Regions from separate parts of the Homo sapiens genome. Here region 2 is linked to region 1. Evidence: promoter capture Hi-C in 16 types of primary human blood cells and fetal thymus (Javierre and others, 2016). All regions are on one chromosome and are shown on one strand. Each heading gives the region's core, a stretch centred on a gene start or on the middle of the fragment in contact. The rest is flanking DNA. Distances are from core to core; before and after follow the strand shown.

Region 1 (6,061 bases), core at 2,653-5,152:
CGAAGGTCTGACAGAGCAACTTAACACAGGCTCATGCCTATTCTTTCTAGGAGCTGCTATCTATGAAGTTTCATCTGCATAACTAGACCATCTTTGCCCCAGCCCCTTCTTTCTTTCTCCCTCCCATAACCATGTTCCAAGCCCCTACTCTGCTGTAACCTCAAGATGGTATAAAAGCATCAAGCATCTGGCCCTTTCTCTCAGTTTTCATATTTTGTATGACTCCCATGCCCATATGCTCATTAATACATTTGTAAGCTTTTCCCCCCTTGTTAATCTATTAGCAGTTTGTTTCATAGACTCAAATGATCAAAACTTTAGGGGAAAAAAATCAAATTCAAATTTCCCTAAAGTGGTCACACATCTGGCTAGTGGCAGAGGTGAATTTCAAATCCAGCTCTCTGTAAGGGCCAGTTACTACTGCATCACAATACAACTTATAAAGTGCTCTTACATATTCATTCAAGGTACTGTTGTTATTATTAAACTTGTTTGACTTGAAATAGGTTTACAAACAAAAATCAGCATAAACCACCTAGTTCAACATGTCTGAAAATGTAGCTTCAATATGGGATAATAAAATACAGAAGGTTCATTTGCATTTATTCGTTTTCCAACTTAATTTCAATGGAAAAGAGTAATTCATTTAGAATGTACAAATGGTATTAACGCTCACAATCTCTACTGCAGAAAGGACTCTGGTTAACATTTATAAAGTGGAAGGGGACCAAGTAAGTTTGCCAAAAGGAGGAATATGGAAATTCTGCCCACAGCCAGAACAATGGACATAGATTTGTCAAAACAAAGAACAGTAAAGAGAGGAAAGGCAATTTGTTCAGCCCTTGTAATGCTATTTTATGACTATTTTTCCAGTTGCTAGTTTCCTATTCACTTTAACAAAGAAAAAGATTAAACAAAAAATTTAACATTTTGCAAATTTATATTATCCTTTAGTAGAAGGAAAAATATTGTAAATGGTAAATTATAATATTCAAAGTCCAAACCGAGAAAACAATCTCCAGTCAGATCATTGAATAGCAAAGCGGTCTGTTCCAAAAAGAATCTTCAAAACGCCCACTGTTTATGTTTTGCACAACTTTAAAGTTTTAATGCTAATAATGACTCAATTTAAATGGAGATATCTTTAGGCTGTTATTGCCCTAAAATAATCAATATATTTTATGACTCACACAGCCCATCTTGGCTTCCAGACTGGCCTGTGGATATTATGTTAATAAGCTACATCTGGACAGCTGAGCAACAACATCAGTAATAGAAAGGAGGGTAAATTTAAGCCTCGAGTTTTAAGAACAAAGCTGAAACAACAGGCCTTGAAAATACAGCTACGGCCGGGCTCCATGGCTCACGCCTGTAATCCCAGCACTTTGGGAGGCCGAGGCGGGCAGATCACGAGGTCAGGAGATCAAGACCATCCTGGCTAACACGGTGAAACCCCGTCTCTACTAAATATACAAAAAAATTAGCCGGGCGTGGTGGCGGCACCTGTAGTCCCAGCTACTCGGGAGGCTGAGGCAGGAGAATGGCGTGAACCCGGGAGGCGGAGCTTGCAGTGAGCCAAGATCGTGCCACTGCACTCCAGCCTGGGCAACACAGCAAGACTCCATCTCAAAAGAAAAGAAAACACAGCTACGAAATAATGCCCAAAGCACTCTTTATTTATACATTGTGCAGGCTGCACACTTTTGTCCCTGGCTCACAGACGGGCAGTAGTGAAAACTGCTTTTCAGATACAAGGCTATAGGTATTAAGGATTACCTAAGTCCTTTCAAAACTTTCTTTTTTTTCTTTCTTTTTTTTGAGACTGAGTTTTGCTCTGTTGCCCGGGCTAGAGTGCAATGATGCCATCTCAGCTCACTGCAACCTCTGCCTCCCAGGTTCAAGCAGTTCTCCTGCCTCAGCCTCCCAGGTAGCTGGGATTACAGGCACGGGTCACCACACCTGGCTAATTTTTGTATTTTTAGTAGAGACGAGGTTTCACCATGTCGGCCAGGCTGGTCTCGAACTCCTGACCTCAGGTGATCCATCCACCTCGGCTTCCCAAAGTGCTAGGATTACAGGTGTGAGCCACCACGCCGGGCGTCAAAACTTTTGACTGCAAGTGCACAACATGTTTTTAAGGACTACCTAAATCCTTTCAAAAGTGGTCCTCAAAAACATGTTGTGCACTTGCATTCATAATAACGGTATTTCTTTCTTCCTGCTAAGCCAAATGCTGGTACAAGCCACTGTGGTATCACACATGGCTTCATCATACTATAGTCACCCTTCAAAGGACATTAAGTAGGCTTCCGCTCCTGATCTGTGCAGACACAACACACACACACGTATCCACGAAAAAAAATCAAAGCAAAGAGAGAAGGCTGGGTGCAGTGGCTCACACCTTTAATCCCAGCACTTTGGGAGGCCGAGGTGGGTGGATCAATTGAGGTCAGGAGTTCAAGACCAGCCTGGCCAACATGGTGAAACCCCATCTCTACTCAAAATTCAAAAACTAGCCGGGTGTGGGGGTGGGCGCCTGTAATCCCAGCAACTCGGGAGGCTGAGGCAGGAGACTCACTTGAGCCTGGGAGGCGGAGGTTGCAGTGGGCGGAGGTTGCAGTGAGCCGAGATAGCACCACCGCACTCCAGCCTGGGCGACAGAGCCAGACTACGTCTCTCTCTCTCTCTCTCAAACACACACACACACACACACACACACACACAGTAAACAGAGAGCACAAATTCACAGCTCCAACTCCACCAGTTATTCAAACACACATTAAGGATGTGCCAATTTTATATAGGGACTTTGTTTTTAAATTCTTCTTAGAAACGACCACGGCTTTGCACCAACTGTGAGTTTTAGCTAAGTACTATGCGGTTTTGAGAAAGTTATTTTACTCTGTAATTTCCGCCGGTTTGGAGAGACCGTGCGTAAAGCAGGTAGCCTGCCACCTCCTGTTACGTTGTGGCTGGGTTTTGAAGGAGTACATTCAGGGGCTTGGCGGCTAACGTCCAAGCCCCACCCTAGCAGGTTGTTAAACTCTAACAACTGTGGAAAGTCACTCGGAAGCTCCAGTTTGACTTGCCCTTTGAGGGGCTGGGTGTCTGTGTTGGGAAAGGGTAGCAGGGGTGGGGGTGGAAAGACACTTTGCACAGATCCTTGTTTGCTTAAGACGAGCCTCTGTGGGCATTCTGGGAACACGTGCACAGCTCCAGCAAAACAAAACGGACCCGGGTTTCTGGGGCAGAGGGAAGCGCAGCCCGTTCTACCGTGTTCAGCGGGGTAACTGCGCTTTGCGGGAGCCCCTGCCTTGTAGCTGGAGCTCGTTTCCTTTCCGTGCCTGGGCGAGCGCTGGTTCTCCAGCCAAGAGCACCCTCCCCAGTTGGCGAGCCCTGGCTCTGGGCGGGACCCGTGCCTGGATCCCCTTCTCTGGAGTTCCGCACCTGGGCTTCGGGAGCTGAAAGCGCAAGGGGGCTACAGGACCCGCTTGTTTATTTTTTCTCCTCCCGAAATCCTGTGTCACCTTCCGACCCGCGTTTTCCCCGTGGTCCTGCATCCGACGGGTCCAGGTTTCTCCCTGCAGCAATTTCCTAAGAGGCTGTCTTCCGTCCCCCTCCTTCCCCACACCATGCCCTCAGCTTCCCCACATCGCCCTCCTTAGGGGTGGGCGCAAACCGAGCTCCCCTGGAACTTACACGTGGCCACAGCGGGTCCGGACAGGCTGGTGTAACACCTCAAGGCACACGGCGCAGTCGAAGGACGTGACGGGCAACTCCGGGTCCCTCCTGCGCTCCAGGGCCCGCGCGGTGGCAGAGGCGGGCGCCGATTTGCCGCTGTCGGTGCTCAGCACGGAGCCCATCGCTGTGCCTCTCGCCCAGACAGCTGCGAAGCACTCAGTGCCTGCCGCAGGGTTGTTTTGTTGCCGTGCGGTGGAGGAAGGAAGTCCCGGCCCAGCTGCGATCGCCGCCTCCCAGCTCTCCCAGCTCGCGCAGCCCAGAAGCCACCTCCGCCGCTGCGCCCAACCCTGGTCTAGGGCAGGGCGAGCGCGCGGCCGCGGGGCTGAGATCTTCGGCAAGCCGCCTAGGTTAAGGCGCGGAGGCGGAGGCGGCAGCCGCCCCGTGCTCTGTCTTGTGGTATTGGGAGGATTGAAACCTGAAACCTCAACTGCAGAGAAGAGGACTTGAGGCAGCAGTAAACCTTCCAAGCTATCACACACAGCTGCTTTCCCCACTGTCAGAAGTTAAGTGCGGGCGTGGCCATGCTTAATGATAATCAGAGAACAGCCGCTTTTAAGGTGAAGTGGAAGACCATCCTCCACTGTTGTCATCACAATAAGCTGCAAAAATGACCTATGACCTATGATTGGGCGTCTCCTAAGACGGTGCTATCGCTACTCTGTCATCCAATCAATAGTCCATTAATGGAGAGATAGCCTGGGTAGTGGAAAGAGTCCTGGAGATTAGGATTCCAATCTTACCTCTCCTACAGAGATTCTAGTGCTAAACCCTGCCATCTCCAGTTTCCTCTGCGGCTCAGGATTTCCTCTGTTGTTTGTACGCTCCCCACCCCGCCCTTTAAACATGATCAGCCAGGCGCGGTGGCCCACGCCTGTAATTCCAACACTTTGGGAGGCCGAGGCGGGCTTGAAACTCCTGCTTGAGGGCAGGAGTTCGAGACCAGCCTGGCCAACATGGTGAAACCCCGTCGCTGCTAATAATACAAAAATTAGCCGGGCGTTAATTTACACTTTTTACGAAGACTTATTTAGTGCCCACTGCACGCCAGACTCGGTTCTAGTGATGAAGACACAATCGTCAACAAGCAAACAAAATCCCAGTTCTCACAGAACTTACTTTAAAAAACAAAAACAAAACTTTGAGATAATTATAGATTCACATACAGTTGTAAGAATAGTACATAGTATATAATACACATATACAATAATATATAATATAACACATGGGATATAATAACGCATATAATACATGTACGTATTTAGCAGGCCATAAACTTCACCCAGGCTTTACTTTTAATTAGGAGATATAGGCCGGGTACCGTGGCTCACGCCTGTAATTTCAGCACTTTGGGAGGCTGAGGTGGGAGGATCACTTGAGCACGGGAGCCAAGATCACACTACTGCACTCCGTCCTGTGCGACAGAGTGAGACCATGTCTCAAAAAACAAACCAAGCCGGGGCAGTGGCTCACGCCTGTAATCCCAGCACTTTGGGAGGCAAGAAGGACAGATCACCTGAGGTCAGGAGTTTGAGACCAGCCTGGCCAACATGGTGAAACCCTGTCTCTACTAAAAATACAAAACTTAGCTGGGTGTGAGCTACTTGGGAGGCTGAGGCACAAGAATCGCTTGAACCGGAAAGGTGGAGGCTGCAGTGAGCCGAGATCATGCCACTGCACTCCAGCCTGGGCAACAGAGGGAGACCCTGTCTCAAAAAACCAAAACAGGCTGGGTGCAGTGGCTCACGCCTGAAATCCCAGCAATTTGGGAGGCCGAGGCAGGTGGATCACAAGGTCAGGAGTTCAAGACCAGCCTGGCCAACATAGTGAAACCCCGTCTCTACTAGAAATACATTTCTTTAGTAAAAATTTTTGTACTAAAAATACAAAAATTAGCCAGGTGTGGTGGCACATGCGTGTAGTCCCAGCTACTTGGGAGGCTGAGGCAGGAGAACCACTTGCACCCAAGAGGTGGAGGTTGCAGTGAGCCGAGACCATGCCACTACACTCCATCGTGGGTAACAGAGCGAGACTCTGTCTCAAAAACAAACAACAAACAAAAGGAAGATACATGTAATCAATCCATAAACAAATGAACAAAATCATTTCAGATAATCAGAGCCATGAAGAAGATAAAACAGTAAATGGCAATGAGGAGAAGAATAAGCTCAGAGAAGAATTTTTGGATGAAGTGACATTTGAGCAGAGCCATGAATAATGAAAAGAAGTGAGCCATTCAAAGATTTAGGAAAAAGCGTGGACTGGGAACAGTGAATGAGGCAGAACCAAAGAAAGGAAAGACCTATGGAGCTGGAGCATGGGT
Region 2 (6,061 bases), core at 1,721-4,220, 460 kb after region 1:
GTCCCAACAAATCCAAAAATTGGAAGAGGCAACAAATGTTTTTCTGAAGTTCTGAAGTGCCCTTAACCTTGGCTTTTTTCTTGTTCCCGTCATCATTTCTTTAGCTGGGGTGAACTGTCTGATGATGCAAAAGCCAAGAGACAAACCACCAGCTTTATATATTGTATAGCTTCTCCAACTCACCCATCAAATGGGGGCAAAATAATAGATAGTACTGATCACTAGGACTGTTGTGAGGATCAAATCAGACAATAGTATGAGAAATGCTCAGCATAGGGCCTGTCCAGAGAAGGTACCCAGTGCATACTGGATTCTTTACTAGTGGTGTGATCACCATCACCCTTGTCGTGTGCCAGGTTCTCTCTGTGCTTCAGAGTATTATTATTCCAAAGGGAAATGCACATTGAATTTTCTCTCTTAAGAACTACTTGCAGTAGAACACCCTTTGACTGGGGTAAGAACCCTTGAGTAACAGAGGCCACTGTGTCCAAAAGCTTTACCTGTGTATAGGTGTGCCACAGTTGCATGAACCTCACCTTTGGCTTGCTCATCTAAAAAGTGGACCAATAAACCTTGCAACTGACACACAAGTTTAGAAAGGTCAGATAGCATGGTGGGTAGATCTATTCCAGGTTCCCTTGCAATTACCAAAAGGGTTGTAACTTTCAATGCTTCATTAATCCACATGTAGCACTGCACAGAGCTGATTTTTTTCTTTTTTTTTTTTTTTTTTGAGATGGAGTCTCGCTCTGTTACCTAGGCTGGAGAGGAGTGGCGTGATCTCGGCTCACTGCAAGCTCCGCCTCCCGAGTTCAAGCAATTCTTCTGCCTCAGCCACCTCAGTAGCTGGGATTACAGGCATCCGCCACCACACATGGCTAACTTTTTGTATTTTTAGTAGAGATGGGGTTTCACCGTGTTGGCTAGGCTAATCTTGAACTCCTGACCTCAGGTAATCCTCCCATCTTGGCCTCCCAAAGTGCTGGGATTACAGGTGTGAGCCACCACACCCGGCCCACAGCTCATTTTGAAGGAACTCTACCAATAACCTGCTGTTTACAATTTTTACATGATAAACAACATAGTAGCAAACATCCTTATATACATATCTTTTCATAATTTTAAGACTCTCTTGAGGTAAGATCCTAGAAGCTGGGCTGAAGAATTTGGTTCTCTTTCCATGGGTCGGGTCATTGGAATGTTCAGAGGATGCACCCGGTAGCAGATGCTCTTCCTCCCTAGTTATCAGGGCTATGTCAGGAGGAGGGGGAAAGAGACATGAGGATTTTGTTTGCCTCTATGTTCCTTTTACTTCCTTGATAGTTTGTCTTGGTTTATCCTATTTCTTTTTCTAACCCCCTGGCTTCTACTTTTGGCCAAATATTACTGGAGTATGTATGAGAGTAGAGGGAGACGCAGACGGGTCGGGGATGCAGGGAGTGGAAATATTGAGGGAATATTCCTTTTAATCATTATCTTTATTTTTATTTCATTCCAGCTTCTCAATGTGGATCAGGTGGGTGGATTTTTCTAATTTTTAAGACTATAAATCTTAAACGAATTTCTCTAATTTTTAAGACTCTAAGTCCTGTACTAGCAAGAACATGGATTTTTCTACCCTTCCTTAGAGTGCTCCAGATTATGTGGGAATTTTATTTCTCTTTGTTTGCAAGAGAAACTCCTAAAGAGCTCATTCCTTAGAAAAGCATGAATTTCCGCATGTCTCTTTAACCATCAATTTAGCTGCTCTCAAAGAAATCTGAAGAATGCTTTGCTTGTGTGTCTTTTTCCTTCTGTGTCCACTTTTAACTAAATGTCTCTTTCCAGTGTCTCCATTTCTAATTAATAAGAAGGGAGTTAGCTGGACTGATTATTCTTTGTCATCCCATTGTGGCCAGATCTTTGAACAGTCTATCTCTTGGGCTTCTAGACAACCTGCAGATGGCCACTTTTAGGTTCAGTACCTCTCTCATCCAGTCAGCTGTTGGTTGAGTGTGTGGTAGGGTGTGTATCATATGGAATGGAAAGATCCTCGGATGCTCTAGAATTCCGAGTGAGGTGAAGGGCATTCAGCGGACCTTGGGTGCTCTTACTCAGGGATTTCTTTTAAATTGGCAAGCTAGTCCAGGGGCAGTGCCAGCACTTTGGGAGGCCGAGTTGGGAGGATCACTTGAGCCCAGGAGTTCAAAACCAGCCTTGGCCACATAGCAAATCCCCATCTCTACAAAAAATATATAAAAAAAATAGCTTGATGTGGTGCGTGCCTGTGGTCCCATCTACTCTGGAGGCAGAGGCAGAAGGATCACTTGAGTCTGGGAGATTGAGGCTGCAGTGAGCTATGATTGTGCCACTGCACTCCAGCCTGGGCAACAGAGTGAGACCTTGTCTCAAGAAAATAAATAAATAAATAAATAATAAATTGGCAAACTAGGAGAGAAAAAGCATGGTAAGTATAGCCTGGCATTTTTGTTAAAAAAAAAAAAAAGCTTCTAAAAAATGTCTACACATACATTTACCCCATGACCCAGCAATTTAGGTATTTGCCCCAGAGCAATGAAAACATATGGCCACCAAGGCTTGAACATGAATGTTTATAGTAGCTTCATTTTTGATAACACAAAACTGAAGACAGTCTGGGTGTCCATCAATATGAGAATGGAAAAACAATTTTGACATAATTATACAATAGAACGCTACTGCATTCCATTGCAAAATAGTTTCTTTTCTACAAAAAGAAATGTGTTACTGGTACACACAACCTAGATGAATCTCAAAAAATTATGCTGAGTGATAGAAGTCTATTCCAGAGTCCACACTATATGACTCCATTTATATAAAGTTCTAGGAGAGGCAAAACTAAAAAAAATTTAAATAAAAAAGTCATTGCCTCTCAGAGATAGAGATGAGGCCTGAGCAGGAAGAGGTATTGGTATTTTCTGGGGTCATGGTCATTTTCACATCTTGAAAGGGGTTTGGTTACACGGGTGTATGCATTCTTCAAAACTTAGCAAATGTACACTTAAAATTGGTGCATTTCATGCTATGTGATTTTGCCTCAGAAGAAAAAAAATGTAAATAAATCTTGAACTGTAATTCAACTCTGATGTGTTCAGCGTATGGATGTATTTAAGTATACTTATGGCTATAATTTAATTTGAAATTCACCAAGAGAAATAAGATGGATTGATCAATGGATACAGACATGGATAGATATGTAATAAACTAAGAACAGTAAAATATTAATAGTGAAATCTTGGTGGTAGAAATTCAAGTGTTCACTGAAAATTCTTTCAGTTTGCTATGTGTGTGAAAAGTTTTCCAATAGAATGTTGGGGAAAATGTCTATTGAAATATGATATACCATTCAATTAACAACAAATAGTCATGCACGTGTCATATATAAAGCATTGTGATATGTACTAAAGATGCAAGAATGAAGAAAGACAAAGCTTTTGGCTCGGAGCTTTCACAGTTTCATAAAGGAGACCAAAGTACCAAATTGTTAGGGGAACAAACATGTCAACAATTTTCTGGAATCGTCTAATTTCAAGTACTTTACTTTTATTTGTTTTATGTGTAAAAGAAATGCATTTTATTATTATTTATGTTTCTGTTTCTATTTTTATATATTTCAGGGGTACAAGTGCAGGATTTTTAAATTTTCATTTTTTTAAAGCATAGTCTTTGTCATCTGGGCTGGAGTACAGTGGCACAGTCATGGCACACTGCAGCCTTGAATTCCTGGGCTCTAGTGATCTTCCCATGTCAGCCGCCCAAGCAGCTGAGACCGCAGGTGTACACCACCATGGCCACCTAATTTCTTAAAATTTTTGTAAAGACGAGGTCTCACTATGTTGCCCAGGCTGGTCTAGAACTCCTGGGCTCAAGCAATCCTGCTGCCTTGGCCTCCCAAAGTGATGGGATTACAGGCATGAACCACCAAGCCCGGCTGCAGATTGTTTACATGCTCGGATTGCATAACAGTTACATCTAGGCTTTTTAGTGTACCCATCACCGGAACAGTGAACGTTGTACCCAAGAGGTAATTTTTCAATCCTTACTTTCTCCTCCCTTCTCACCTTTTGGAGTCCCCAGTGTCTATTATTCCACTCTGTATGCCCACGTGTACCCACTGTTTAGCTTCCACTTATAAGTGAGAACATACGGTTTTTTTTTTTTTTTTTTTTTTGAGACAGAGTTTCACTCTTGTTGCCCAGGCTGGAGTGCAATGGTGAGATCTCGGCTCACCGCAACCTCCGCCTCCCAGGTTCAAGCGATTCTCCTGCCTCAGCCTCCCGAGTAGCTGGGATTACAGGCATGCACCACCACACCCGGCTAATTTTATATTTTTAGTAGAGATGGGGCTTCTCCATGTTGGTAAGGCTGGTCTCAAATGACTTTCTGTTTTTGAGTTATTTCACTTAGGTTAATGGCCTCCAATTCCATCCATGTTGCTGCAGAAGACATGATTTCATTCTTTTTTATGGCTGAGTATTATCCCGTGGTATATATGTACCACAGTTTTTTAATCCAGTTGATGGATTAAATTGGACACTTAAGTTGATGGACACTTAGGTTGATTCCATATTCAAGTACTTTATTTTTAAACGTAAGGAATTCTTTAAGTAAATGACTCCATGTTATTTTGATTGACTAATTTTGTAAGTGTTTTTATGTAAACAAACTCACAAGTTAGGAAAAAAATCTTTCATCAAATGCTGTCTTCTAATTTTGTTTAGGGAAATGTTTTTCTCATAACCATACCTTGCCTGTCTGTTGCCTCTGTGACCTATTGACATAATATTTAAAATTTACTTTACAGCAAGAAAAGGGCACTGAAAATGCACGGAAAAGTCAATGAAAGTCAGAAGAAAAAAAGGTTAATATTTAAGGTTGACTTTGGTTGGAGTTAACTTCAACTTTCCCCCACCCTCTTCCTGCAGAATCTCCTCCTTCCAGCTGAGGATTCTTTCTAAAACCTGGTTATAAGGTGTCTTGCTCACAATTGTCTGTGGCTCTTTACTGCATAAAGAGTCTGGTCCCACAGCCTTAGCTGCTGTTCCAAGTCCTCCACAGGGTGGCCTGTACCTGCCTCTTCACCCACACCTTCTGCTGTGCTCACCGCCTCTAATCCCTTACCCGCTAGCCACCCTCACCTGTGTGAGGTAAGCTTCTGATCTAGGTGGTCCTTCCTCCTGTTTACTTACTCTCTGGATTAGTTCATTTTTGCATTACTATAAAGAAATACCTGAGGCTGGTTATTTATTTATTTATTTATTGAGACGGAGTCTCACTCTGTCGCCCAGGCTGGAGTGCAGTGGCGCGCTTGGCTCACTGCAACCGCTGCCTCCCAGGTTCAAGCGATTCTCCTGCCTCAGCCTCCTGAGTAGCTGGGATTACAGACGCCCGCCACCACGCCCGGCTAATTTTTGTATTTTTAGTAGAGACGGGTTTCGCCATGTTGGTCAGGCTGGTCTTGAACTCCTGACCTCAGGTGATCTGACTGCCTCAGCCTCCCAAAGTGCTGGCATTACAGGTGTGAGCCACTACACCTGGCCTGAGGCTGGTAGTTTATAAAGAAAAGAGGTTTAACTGGCTCACGGTTCTGCAGGTGAACCAGAGGTGTGGTGCTGGCATCTGCTTCTGGTGAGGGCCTCAGGAAGCTTCCAATTATTGGCGGAAGGCGAAGTGGGTGTATCACATGGTGAGACCAGGATCAAGAGAGAGGGGAGAGAGGGGCTACGCTTTTAAAAAACAACCAGATCTCGCGTGAACGACCTGAGCGAGAACTGGCTCATCACCAAGGGGATGGCACGAATCCGTTCCTGCGGGATCGGTTCCCATCATCCAATACCTCCCACCAGACTCCACTTCCATCATTGGAGGTCACATTTCAACTAAGATTTGGAGGGGACCGTATCCTAACTATATTAACTTCCAATTTTCATCGAAAGCCCACCTGTCTAAGAAGAGCTCCTAGACATTCCCTTTCCCCTTCAACTTGGAGGAATTGGGAATGACAAAGAGAAATTAATCAAAAGAAGAATTAATCTCTCCAATC

The links. Contacts are between HindIII fragments. The CHiCAGO score rates a contact against its expected background, and 5 or more counts as called.
Region 2: a contact is called between a fragment that was not itself captured here and the fragment with the promoter of RNF125 in region 1, in 1 of 17 cell types (fetal thymus). The highest score is 6.2, in fetal thymus.

What each region holds. Positions count from the first base shown.
Region 1 is chr18:32,016,666-32,022,726 of GRCh38, reverse strand. It overlaps RNF125 (ring finger protein 125), which reads right to left and starts at 3,902. Exons shown (of 6, transcript NM_017831.4): 1 at 3,700-3,902. The coding sequence starts at 3,863. RefSeq lists enhancers at 3,141-3,190, 2,835-3,707, 4,007-4,301, 3,708-4,580 and a silencer at 4,007-4,301. The HindIII fragment of the contact is 17,285 bases long and covers 261-6,061 here.
Region 2 is chr18:31,556,672-31,562,732 of GRCh38, reverse strand. DSG2-AS1 (DSG2 antisense RNA 1) reads left to right here and starts at 5,822. Exons shown (of 6, transcript NR_045216.1): 1 at 5,822-6,061. The HindIII fragment of the contact is 963 bases long and covers 2,489-3,451 here.